2 separate regions of the Homo sapiens genome follow, and region 2 is linked to region 1. The links are contacts of gene promoters, found by promoter capture Hi-C in human tissues and cell types (Jung and others, 2019). All regions are on one chromosome and are shown on one strand. The core of a region is centred on a gene start or on the middle of the fragment in contact, and the rest is flanking DNA. Distances in the headings are between cores, read along the strand shown.

Evidence for each region. Contacts are between HindIII fragments. The study calls those that stand out against the background at their distance.
Region 2: a fragment that was not itself captured here is called in contact with the fragment with the promoter of HTR1E in region 1 in 2 of the 25 tissues and cell types used here (aorta and liver).

The regions. Positions count from the first base shown.
Region 1 is chr6:86,933,975-86,939,704 of GRCh38, reverse strand. HTR1E (5-hydroxytryptamine receptor 1E) reads right to left here and starts at 2,177. Exons shown (of 2, transcript NM_000865.3): 1 at 1,882-2,177. RefSeq lists enhancers at 1,283-1,837, 1,838-2,393. The HindIII fragment of the contact is 9,684 bases long and covers 1-4,212 here.
Region 2 is chr6:86,353,815-86,359,544 of GRCh38, reverse strand. No RefSeq gene overlaps it. Among named protein-coding and RNA genes, the nearest start is that of HTR1E, 580 kb to the left of the region's middle. The HindIII fragment of the contact is 5,559 bases long and covers 1-5,007 here.

The DNA.
Region 1 (5,730 bases), core at 928-3,427:
CTTGTTAGCTGGTGGATACACATTGTTAATTTGAATACTCTTCATTATAAAAATAATCTGCTAAGTTTTCATCCCTGGAAATTGTTATGAAAGCGAAAACAAGCACGTAAGGGAATATTTGAACATGCATATACCTAATGACCAGAGTCATGGCTACACTTTAAAAGGCTCCTTTCTAGCTCTGTTACTAGAAGTCTCAATTGAGATCTATAGCAATCCTTGGAGCTTCTGCAGCCCATGTCAGGTGATGATGACACAATAGTTAAGTTCTATCAACAATGATGAATCAGGATTTGAGTGAGTTTCTCTATATAGCTCTCTTAGTGATGAAATACCTCTATGCAGCAAAATAGTTAGTGGTGAGGTGCTATGCAATTTTAGAAATAAGCAACATACTCTGTTTTAAATATGATACAGAAACTGAGCTGAGTCCCACTTAGGAGGTGGGCTTCATCATCACAACTCCGTGGGCTGGAGGCTAAAGCTCTGAAGGGAGGAAAAACAGAGGCAGGCATATTTTGTGCATTTGTTAAATGGGCCTCAAATGCCTCCATTCATTTATTTGTTGAAGACAGGGTCATCTCATTTAATTCAGCAGGAAAGCAACTGTACCAGAAAGAGAAAAGCTGTCTCAATCTTCTCTGTATTTCAAAGGTATTTCACATATGCTCCTCATGAAGGAGACCGCACAGGGAATCAGACCCACGTGCCTGCTTTGCCTCTCTTGCGCAGGATTAAGTAAGGGAAGCCCCTGATTCACAAGTGCATCCTGGCTGTTTAAGGTTATGCATATTGTGTCTGAATGTACAACTATGATAAATATATATTCTGGAGCAATGTTAAATTCAGCTTAGGACGATGTACTGCTTAGAGCTTTGAGGGAAAACATAAGAATGATAAAATGAGCCTAAATTATTTTGGAAAAAACACTGCTCCCCCAACCCATTTGACGATCTATTATTTCCTCCTGGGCTGCTCCCTCCCCAAGAGATTTGGTGCAGGAGGCAAGGAAGGACAATAAGAAAGGTTAGGAAGAAACACCTTGGGATGCTGACACCATCTGCCTTATCCTTCTAACTCAAGGACAAGCAGCGTTGGGTTGAATACAAGGTCCTTTCTTCCAAAACTGGGCACAGGCAGAAATATACATATAGATGCAAAACCACTATGATCCTGTGATAGGAGCTGGAATCACTTCCCTTTAGACTCAATTTCCTTTCCTTTTCGTTAGGTAGGGGGTCAGCCTCTCACCTTGCAGTATTGGGTGGAGATGGCTTAAGACCAAACTTCTCATCTTAACTCTTACTTCCAAGATTTATTTTGTATTTTAAAAAAAATGAGCCTGCCTCATTACCTCCACACCTGGGCATTTTGTTTATCAGGACTGAGCACAGTATTATTTTCTGAGGGCTGGAGCAACAGTGCAGTCCTTTCTAATCAAAGGTTTTTTAATCAGCTGGCTTTGAAATCACACAGTTCTTCCGGGGTCCCTGGAGCACACCACCTCCCTGTGATTTCTACTCAAGTTTTCCCTGGCCCCCCCCAGCACCCGTTCCATACCTATTTAATCTTTAAGCTGCCTCTAATCCTTTTGCAAGGAAGCAGGATGAAATGCTCAAACCACAGTTATACACAATGTTGATTCTCAGGTTCACACATTTGAGGAATTGTTTGAACAAGAAATGCTCTCTGTACTATAATCCAGGGTGCAGGCACGGTGCCCGGGCGACCCTCAGTCTCCCTCCGACACCCCGCATCCCAACTCCCGCCGCCTTTGCGCCTCAAAGCTGGCAAACATCCCCAAGCCAGAGCTGGAGTACCTGGAGTGGGTGGGGGTAAGAAGGGAAGCCAAGGTCGTCCCGGAAGGTGTGCGCCCCTCACCTTGTGGACGGTGCGTGCAGCCGCGCCGCACTGGGCAAACCGGCACGTCCAGCTGGCTCCAGAAGTCTCACTCGGAACCCGCTCCTTTTTCTCCTGAGCTGGATCAGAGCACTGCTTCTCTCAACATTCGATTCTGGAGTACGTTGAGCCCAGGGCGTTCTCCCCGCCAGCGTCCTTGCCCGCGCCAGTGCCCGCCGGGGTGCGGCGAGACAGAACCTGGGAGCGCGGCGCGCCGGGCAGCCCGAGGCACCGCTGGTGGCAGGCGCTGCGCTTCGCCGAGTCTGGGCGCCTGGACTGGAAGAGGAGGCGAGAGGGAGAGAGCGGGGAAGAGGAGGAGGAGGAGCAGGAGCAGGAGCATGGGCAGGGGCAGTCTGCTAAATCATCTACGCAGGTCGCAGCCTCCCGGGACACCGTGAACGGAGAGGGGGGTGGTGGGTGTGGGATGAAAAGATGAGCCCGGGTGTGAGGCAGGTGGTATTGTGAACTGGAGGTCGCAGCTCCGAGGTACTCCAGGTCTTGCTTAGGTTATAAAAGAGAAATTCTGGAGCTGATGGCGCCTTAGGGCTCCCGGTTGCAGACACTAGAGGGCAGGGCTGTCCATGTTATAAACCGGGCCAGCGGGGTTGGAGGTGTGGGCAAGGGACTCACCTCCTGAGCCCCTTGCCGGCCACAGCCCTGGCGGAGAAGGGGAAAATAGATACAACAAGGGGGCAGACCCTACTCCCTTCTTCTGTAGCGAGCCTGGGTTGAGGAGGGAGAGGAACGGCGGGAGCAGTTGACGGGTTTGCACGCTTTCTCTACGCGGTTCCAATGGCAAACAGACCCTCTGGAGGTGCATTTCTTAGCCCTCCTCCAGGGGAGATTACAGTCAACATCCACAGGATGCCTCAAGGAGAGAGATTACAAGGAAGGGGTGAGGGAGAAGTGGACGAAAATTGGGGTGGGTCAAAGTGGAAGGGGGGAAGAGAGGTGGGGAAAGCAGTGAAGAAAAGGAGACGGAGAGTGGAGTGGTTGGGGCTGAAAGACCTGCTGAAGCAGCCTTGCCATTTTTTTTTTTTTTGAGGGAAGTCTACCTGGGCGCCATCTCAGGTTGTCAGAGGGCTTTGTGCTCTTCTGAGGGTGCCAGGGGCTGTTCTTTTTGTTGTTCTGCTGCCGCAAGGTCAGAAAAGTTAAGCTGGGAGGGACTTTGCAGAATCCTGGCATTGCTAAAAGAAGCTTCCTTACGGCTGGTTGGTTATTCTCTGTGGAGAACTTGGGTGACTCAACATTGAAGCCTAACATGGATTGAGCCCCTGCCATTGTAAAAAAGAAAATCAGATTGTTCAAACTAGCCATAAAATGAACTAGACAATCTTATGGAGACAGTATGATCTGTAGACAGCCTGATACACAAACCTTAGAGTTGAAAGGACCTTGGAAACCATGTAGGCAACTTGGGTAGCTGCCCCAAACACCTGCCTCACACTTTTCTTTCTGGTTTGTAGCCTTATGGCTGATTTGAAAAACACTTTAAGTTATTTATTTATTTTTTGAAGTTTGACAATTCTAAACCAAATGAAACCCTTCTTCAGTTCAAAAAGCGAGCCTGTGTGCCCTTCTCCTGCCTTCTAGAGCGCCTCTCAAGGCCAGCAGGGGTTGACTGATGGATTATCAGGGGAATTTCACTGAACAAGAGAAAGGAAGGTTGGTAAACTATAGTCTTAAATTGTGATTTGCTTCTGTTAATCCCATTAAACTGAGAATAGGCTTAAGTAGACTGAAGTCTAACAGGAGGATGAGGTGGAAATATGTTTTCCTACTAAAGATGACACATCTTGAAGTTTGTTTGATGATAAAGGTGTTATGTAAAAATAAGCAGAACAAGAATCATTCCTCATTTTAAAAAAGAATCTTATAGGACTGAAGATATTTTAGATATCCCAAGAGAGTAAGTAAGGACATTGTTCTACTCTTGCAAGTTTGGAGTTCCTCCAAAATATAAAGGAAATATGAGTTTGTTAAATTGCTTTATTTAAAATTGATTTACCTATTTTTTGGTTATTACAACATAAGGAACTATGGAAACAAATATTATACACTTGGAAACTTTCCTGAACATACCTCAGAATACCCGCTTTTTGGCAGATGTTCAGCTTTATGAAGTGTCTGATTATTTTCAAGCTATTAATTAACTTCTGGCATATATTCTACCAGTTTTAATAAAATCAATGCTCTCTTAATCAAGAGCTGCTAATTCAATTTGTATTACCCATTTGAGTTTCCAGTGGCCTCTATGAGTGCTTTAAGATTGCAGGTATATGTAAATCACATCCCCATTTCATAATAGAGAATTCCTTGTCAGTTAGAAAAACTATAAGGATTGCCTGGAGCCCTGGGCATCTGGCATAAAAAAGTCATCAACTTGCAGCGGGAACTCAAAAGTCACTATGAAGAAATTAACTTATCAAATCCACTCATTCATTAATTCAAAAAATGTTGGTAAATATCTACCACGTTTGAGGCATGGGGCAACTTCTAGGACTAAAATAATGAAGGAACAGTTTATTCTCTCAGTGGGAAGACTAATTCCCAAACTAGTAAATCCATTCCAGAGTAACAGTTTGGAGAAGGGGTAAGTACAGGATGTTATGGGAGCACAGAGGAGGGCAATCTAATCCAGGTTTTAGGACCAGGGAGTAATTTCTGGAAGTGGTACTGACAGTGGTGATGTGTATAGATGGTGGGGTGGTTGATAGTGGTTGGGAGAGGGAAAAATCATGAACAATGGATTCCCTCTATCTCCAAGACAATCCTAATTACATTTGTTAATTTTTCACTTGGATGCTGGAACTTCACATTAATAGATGAGGAAGCAAGCATGCACATGGTACATTTTTCTGCTAGAAGTAAGACTACAAGTTTTGTGAGGCAGGAGCTGTTTATAACTTGTTCATCACACGATTACAGAGAAGAATCAAGATTCTGGTTGACATTGTCTGTCATTTCCTACCTCCACCACGGAAGTGGGAATGAAACATGAAGGGAAGGCATTATGGTGGCGAGGGAGCTCACATTTCTGAGCTCACACCATCCTAGGTGCTCTCCATACATGATTCCACTAAACAATTTCAACAACCCTGTGACATGGTTCTCTCATTTTACTGTTGATTTCAAAGACTGAGCTTCAAATTGCATTTTATGTCTGTGGTGTGACAGAGGCTAGAGGGAGAGAATGAAATGTTTATAGGTAGGTTTCAACATTTGTCAGCTTTCAGGAAGTTATGCTATAGTAACCAAGCATAACCCCCAAATCTCAGTGGCTTGCTATGGTAGAAGTTAGTGGCTTGCTAATAAAAGTATTAGCTGTGGATTGTCTGCAGCTCCATTTGGGGATCCAGACTGATGAAGCCAGGCCATTTTTATGGTAGAGGGAAGAGTAACGGGGGAACATCACAATGGTTCTTAAAGCTTCAGCTGAATTATAAGATAAATCACTTATGCTTACATTCCATTGGCTAACCCAAATCATATGGCTAAGCCAGATGTCAACTGAATAAAAAGCAGGTTTCCTCCACTAGGAAGGATTCCAGGGAGGGCTTCTGTAAAGATGGGCCTGGGAGTCACAATATTTTGTGAATAAATTATTAAATTGACAACAATCTCCAGCAATGCTTTTGAATGAAGGCATTTTCACTATAAAATGTTTTATTTGTTGATACTATTCGCTGTGTTCACCGACCTCACGATACAGGGAGCAAAATAATGAATTTAGGTTTATTAGCTTAATCAACTAGAATATAGCTTAATTGGTTAGAATACATCATCTAGATCTAAACTGTTCAGGGAACAGTTGGCAAGGTGGCCTTGCAC
Region 2 (5,730 bases), core at 979-3,478, 580 kb after region 1:
TTGGTAATATTTAACAGAGAGAACCACTCCCTCCTTGAAGCATTTATTGGCTTGGCTAGGAGGACATTGTTCTCTTGGTAGTCTTCCTACCTCACCAGCTATTTGTTCTTAATCTCCTTTGCTGGTTCCTTTTCACCTCCCCTACTTCTGAATTTTGGAAAGCCCCAAGACTCAGTCCTGTAGGTTTTTCTCTTCCCAATTGACATTCACTTTTTACATGATATAATCCAGTCTCACTGCTATAAAACATCACCTAATTGCTGACATCTTCCAAATTTATATCTTCAGCCTACTCCTCCTTTAACTCGGACTCATGCCCTCAACACTGTACTTATTATCTTCACTCTAATATCTAACAGGCAACTCAGATTCAACAGGGATAAACCCAAATTTTTGCTCTCACTTTCTCAATCTGCTCCTCCTCTAGTATTCCCCATTTGATAAATGTCAACTCACTCTTCCAGTTGCTCAGGTCAATCTTGGAGTTATCCTTTTCCTCTCTCTTTCTCTCCACCCTCTAATCCATTTTTAAATCTTACTAGCTCTAGCATCAAAATAGACCCTGACACTAAGCTATCTCATGACCTCTACTGCTTCTATACAGGTCCAGAGATGAGAAAGCCTCTCTTGCCTGGATTACTGCAATAGCCTCTTTAAGTGGTCTCCTACTTTCACCCTTTTCCTTCTCTATTTCCAATTCAGAATCCTGAATTATCCTTTTAAAATATATCAGATTATGATATTAAAAACCCTGCAATGGCTTTTCATCAAAGTCAGAGTGAAAGCCAAAATCCTACTGTAGCTAACAAGGCACTGTATAAGGTAGTTCAACAGAATTCATGCCTAGAAATGGTCATGCCTCTTCTGCTAAGCCATTAGTGTGGGTGGTTGAGTCAGTGTAGTTAGGAGTTGAACTTGGTTTTGTTGTCACTAAGGTTACTTTCAGGGCATTTCTTCAAATTCCTCTCATGTAACCTTTGTTCAGGGTGGGGGTGCCAGAGGATTTTTCCAATATTCCTGCTCTACTCTCAGTTTTAGGTGAACCAATGCCTATGAGAGGGTCTCTCTCTTTCTCTCTTTGTGCCTTCCCCAAAGATAGTCTGCTGCTGTTTGTTACTTCTTGGTGCTTGTCAGCCTGGTGGGGGGTGGGAAATCTCTGTTACCTGATCTCAGGGTAGGGCTTTCCTTTAGTGACCTTCCCCTTCTTCAGCAGAAGAAGGCCTCTCCAGATCTGGGCTCCTACTACATGGGTAGAAGGTTTACTCCTCTCCCTGCCTTCACAATAGTGGATCTTCCACCAGAGCCTTGGGATAACAGCCTTCGCTATCCTTACCCAAGCCGGATAAGAATTTATTCCTTAGAAATAAGGAAACAGGGAAAATTTCATGTTTCTCACAGTGGTTACTGCCCTCATTTCTGGCCAGCACCACGGACAGTGCATGTGTTTTGTTGCCCTGTCCACCCACCCTGTTCTTTCTCTTGAACACCCAGCAAGTCCGTGAAGAAGAGCCTGCAACTGGGCACAAATGCCCCTCTGTCTTCAGCTCACAGGAATTCTATAATTTCATGCTGACCCACATTCAGCCTTTAACAATTTGACACAAATCTTGGCTTAATGCTTCTAACACCTGCACTTGTAGGGAAGGAAGCCTTGTCTTCCCTGCTTGCTCTCACAGGTGGGACAGTGCTAGTGTCCTGTCACTCCAGGGAGGTGCACTGCTGTCCCTACATTCTTGGCCAGTGAGTTGCCTATGACTTCAGCTCTTATGATTCTAAGAAAAGATATTATTTTGTAAATTATCCAGGTTTTCCTTATTATTTTTTCATTATTAGGAGTGATGTTCTTTCCAGCTTTCTAGATCCTCGTGAAAGACAAAAGTCCCACCCAGATTTATCTTAAGTCATTTATCTTAAGAAAACAATAAGTACATACAATGATATTTATTTGAAGTGTTATGCATTTTGGTATATTTTTAAATTAAGTAAAATTAGAAAAACTCAAACTTTGGCTTTAGTCAGCATAAATAATAGTAGCCACTGAAACAAACAAGCTTCACTTCCTGGAGGCTTCACACAATAACATTTATTTCCTAGTCACACCAGAATTTGATGCAGGCTGAGGGACTTTCTTGTGTGGTTCTCCTCCAAGTGGTGACTTTGAGGGATGTCTTTCTATATAAAACTCTATTGTCTGAGTCCTTCTGCTTCTGCAGAGAAAGAAAAGAAAAGAAAGAAAAAGAAAAAGAAAAGAAAGTAAAAGAAAAGGAAAGAAAAGAAAAGGAGACTGAAAGGTATATTTTAGGGGCCAGGCCTGATATTCCTGGCCCAGATTTCATTGACCATTAGTCAGTTATATGACATCAGTCTAACTGCAAGAGAGGTTTGAAAATATCGTCTTTCTGGGTGCCTAGGAAGAGGAAATGGGATTGATGATCATCTAACTAGTCTATGCCACAGTGTCATCACAGAAAAAAAAAATTAAATTATGCCACATTTATATATTGGAATATTATCTATTCTTTAAAATTGTGCTTTTGTAACAATTCTAATACTGATGGAAAACTCTTGAGACATAACATTAAATAAGAAAAAATATAAATTATAAGATACACAATGATTCCAATTATTGTGTATATGTACATATACATATACATTTATGGCAATAAAAAGACTAAGAGAATATTCACATAATTCATTGGCTTTCCTTTAATCTTTATTTTCTATAATTGATATTGATTATAGGTGATTTTTTCCCTATAACATCTATATTTTCCATATTTTTACAATAAGCTTGTATGATTTGATGATAAAATTGTTTAACTATTGTTTATTTTAGGGTATAATTTAGAAAAAATATATCAGGAGTGTTTTGAGAAAACTAGGGCATTGAAACTGCAGGGAGTAAGTTTTTGCAGCAACTTCGTGAATAGTACATATTTTATATTCACAGCCTGCAAATAATTATCATTTTCATAGTACGACTCATTTGATTAGCTAATCTTGATCTAAAGACAACACTTGTGCTTCTAAAAGTGAAATACTAGTTACTATAGATACCATCTTTTAAAAGTGCCTTTTAAGTTATTATTAAATGAGGTCCTAGTAAAATAATGTTTCAATTAATAATAAATCTGGATAATTAATAGCTAATATGAGTAAACGAAAATGCATGGAATCATGTAAAGATACTCCTTTTCCCATTTAACTTTTCATACTGAATTGGGCACTAAGTCATCTTTCCTCTAACTTCTTAATTTGTGTAGAGGCAATCCGTCCTGTCCTTTCCCACCCCAGTTGTTTGTATTTACCTTTACTGATACTCTCTGTTTAGTCACCTCCTTCCCAGCCTTCCTTTCTCAAAACTATTATCAGGATGATTTTTCCAAAACGCAAGTCTGATCCTGGGTAGGAGTAGAGCTGAGAAATAGGGAGACCTCATGCTTGCAAGGCACATGGGAAAAGACTCCAGGGCAGGGTGAGCACTTGGCCCAGAGTGCGTGCTCAGTGAACAACAAGATAGAAAAATCTGACCACAGGATTCTGTGGGGAGGCTGTTTGTGCTGCAGGACAGGGTTCCTGCTAGGGTGCTAAAGGAGATGAGAGCAGACAGGAAAGGCAAGCCATTCATTTGAATTTGAAGCTGTGGCTAAAAGTTTTGGTTTGATATGTAGAGCAAAAGTGAGAAGCTACTCAAGGATTCTGAGCACTGCAGTGACAAGAATAGAAAATTAGATCTATTTTCTCTCTCCAATTTTCCTGATATAACAATGAGAGCTTTTGTCCACTTTTAGAAGATTTGGATGAAAGCAGGCATTCGAATTTTCTCTTAGGCTGTTAGCTCACTTCATTTAATATTTAGCCATATTAGTAATATCTAAGAAGTGTGTATATGCTGCTTTTTGTTATTATTTTTTACTATTTAAATAAATTCACTCTTTAAAACTAAATGATTGGTTTAAGGTTACTGTGAGCAAAAAAAAATCTGGCCATCACCATTACTTCCTGGGTCTACCCTCTGTGATGGCAGATAAGGAGCCCTTTCACCCATCCTTTGTAACCCCAGGGCCATGCCCACAGGAATGTTCTTCCCCATTCTCTCTCTTGCTATGCTTCTGATAGGCAGATAAGGACCCTGTGACTCAGAAAGGGGATCTACAAAAGAAATACTCTATAAAAAATAAAAGCCATTAGGATTTAAATATATTACCCTCTTTTATGTAACAAATTTTAAAAAATATTAATAGGTATGATAAGATGTTTCATTTCTCTAGTTAATATTACTACAGAAAAGTAGAATTCAAAGTCAGGAAATGAAACAGCAAAAAGGCTGTAATTTGATAAATGAGAAGAAGCAATTGTAGCTCCCACTTTCCAGAGCACCAGCAGTCTTACCTTTCTGCCCTCTCTCCATCACAAGCATGAAAAATCTTCACAAATTTTGCATGCTTTTTATCACTGTACATCTAATTACCTTCTCATGAAAAATTATTTAAAGAGAGATGTTTTATAGCATAAAAACAATACATCTAAAATATTAGACCTGAAAAGGAAGGCCTACAAAACCATATTGGTAGAGGAAAAACACTAGTTTATAATAGTTCCCCCACTATGGGCCCTGAACCTGATCCCTGGTCTCATTTTCAGGCCTTTGTTTAGGCTCATAGTAAGAAGTGGGGTGCAAGATTTTGAAACAAGCTTCACTTGCACCCCAAAAGCTGGTGGATGGCTGTTTGAATATGTACAGATTGATAAATAAAGGGCTTCATGAGAATGAAAATAAATAAATAAATAAGAGGTTTAGAAGCAGCAGCTCTCTGCTAAAGAGACCAAAATAGAACTAAATTCTCTTGTTCTATACATTTCTGTGTATGATTTGTCTGAAATTAGGATCTATTTTCCCTTCCTTTTCTGGAGAGAAGCTGCTCTTGTCCAGGAATCCCTTCACACTAGGCTTTTAGGTAGCTCTCCTAAACAACAGGGGGAAACAACCAGTCAGGCCTTTCTGAGGCCTCTGGCCTCTGTGAGAAGTGGCATCACCAAAGGTGAACTTGAGGCAGGTAAAGATGCAGCTAGCCATCTAGTTTGAGAATTCTAAAAATGGCATCGTGAACCACACATGCATGCCCACAAACACACGCACATGCTTGCTATATCCCTAAAATGCTGTCCCCACCACATCACCTTCCTGCTACCATCTTGCTTTAAGACAGTGAATTTTGCTGGGCCTAAAGCAGGGGTAGAGAGCTCCACGAAGCAAAGAGAACATGAGAATGAGAGTGAGGAAACCTGGGTAATCATACCTACTGTGTACCTTCCAAGCTTTGAGAGCTAAGGCATACCCTCCTGGGCCTTGGTTTCCTTGAGTATACAATGAGAGAATTGTACCACGTTATCTCTAAGGCTCTTTTCACTCTAGGGTTGCATTATTCCATACTATCTCATTATATCCTCCCCTGGCAGATTGAAAAGTGGAGGGTATAGTGGAGACCACACTGGTTTGGAAGTAAAGAGCCCATGTGGGTCCTAGTCCTGGCTCTGCTACTTAGCAGTTGAGCATCGAAGTCAAGTCACTGAATCTGTTCTTACTGTAGGGCAATCATAGGGATCACATGAAATAACATTCATCCATTAGTCAGCTTGTAGTACATAAAAAACCACACCAAAATTTAGTGGCTTAAAAAATTACAATTACTTTTCATGATTCTGTACATTAGCTGGGTGGTTTTTCTG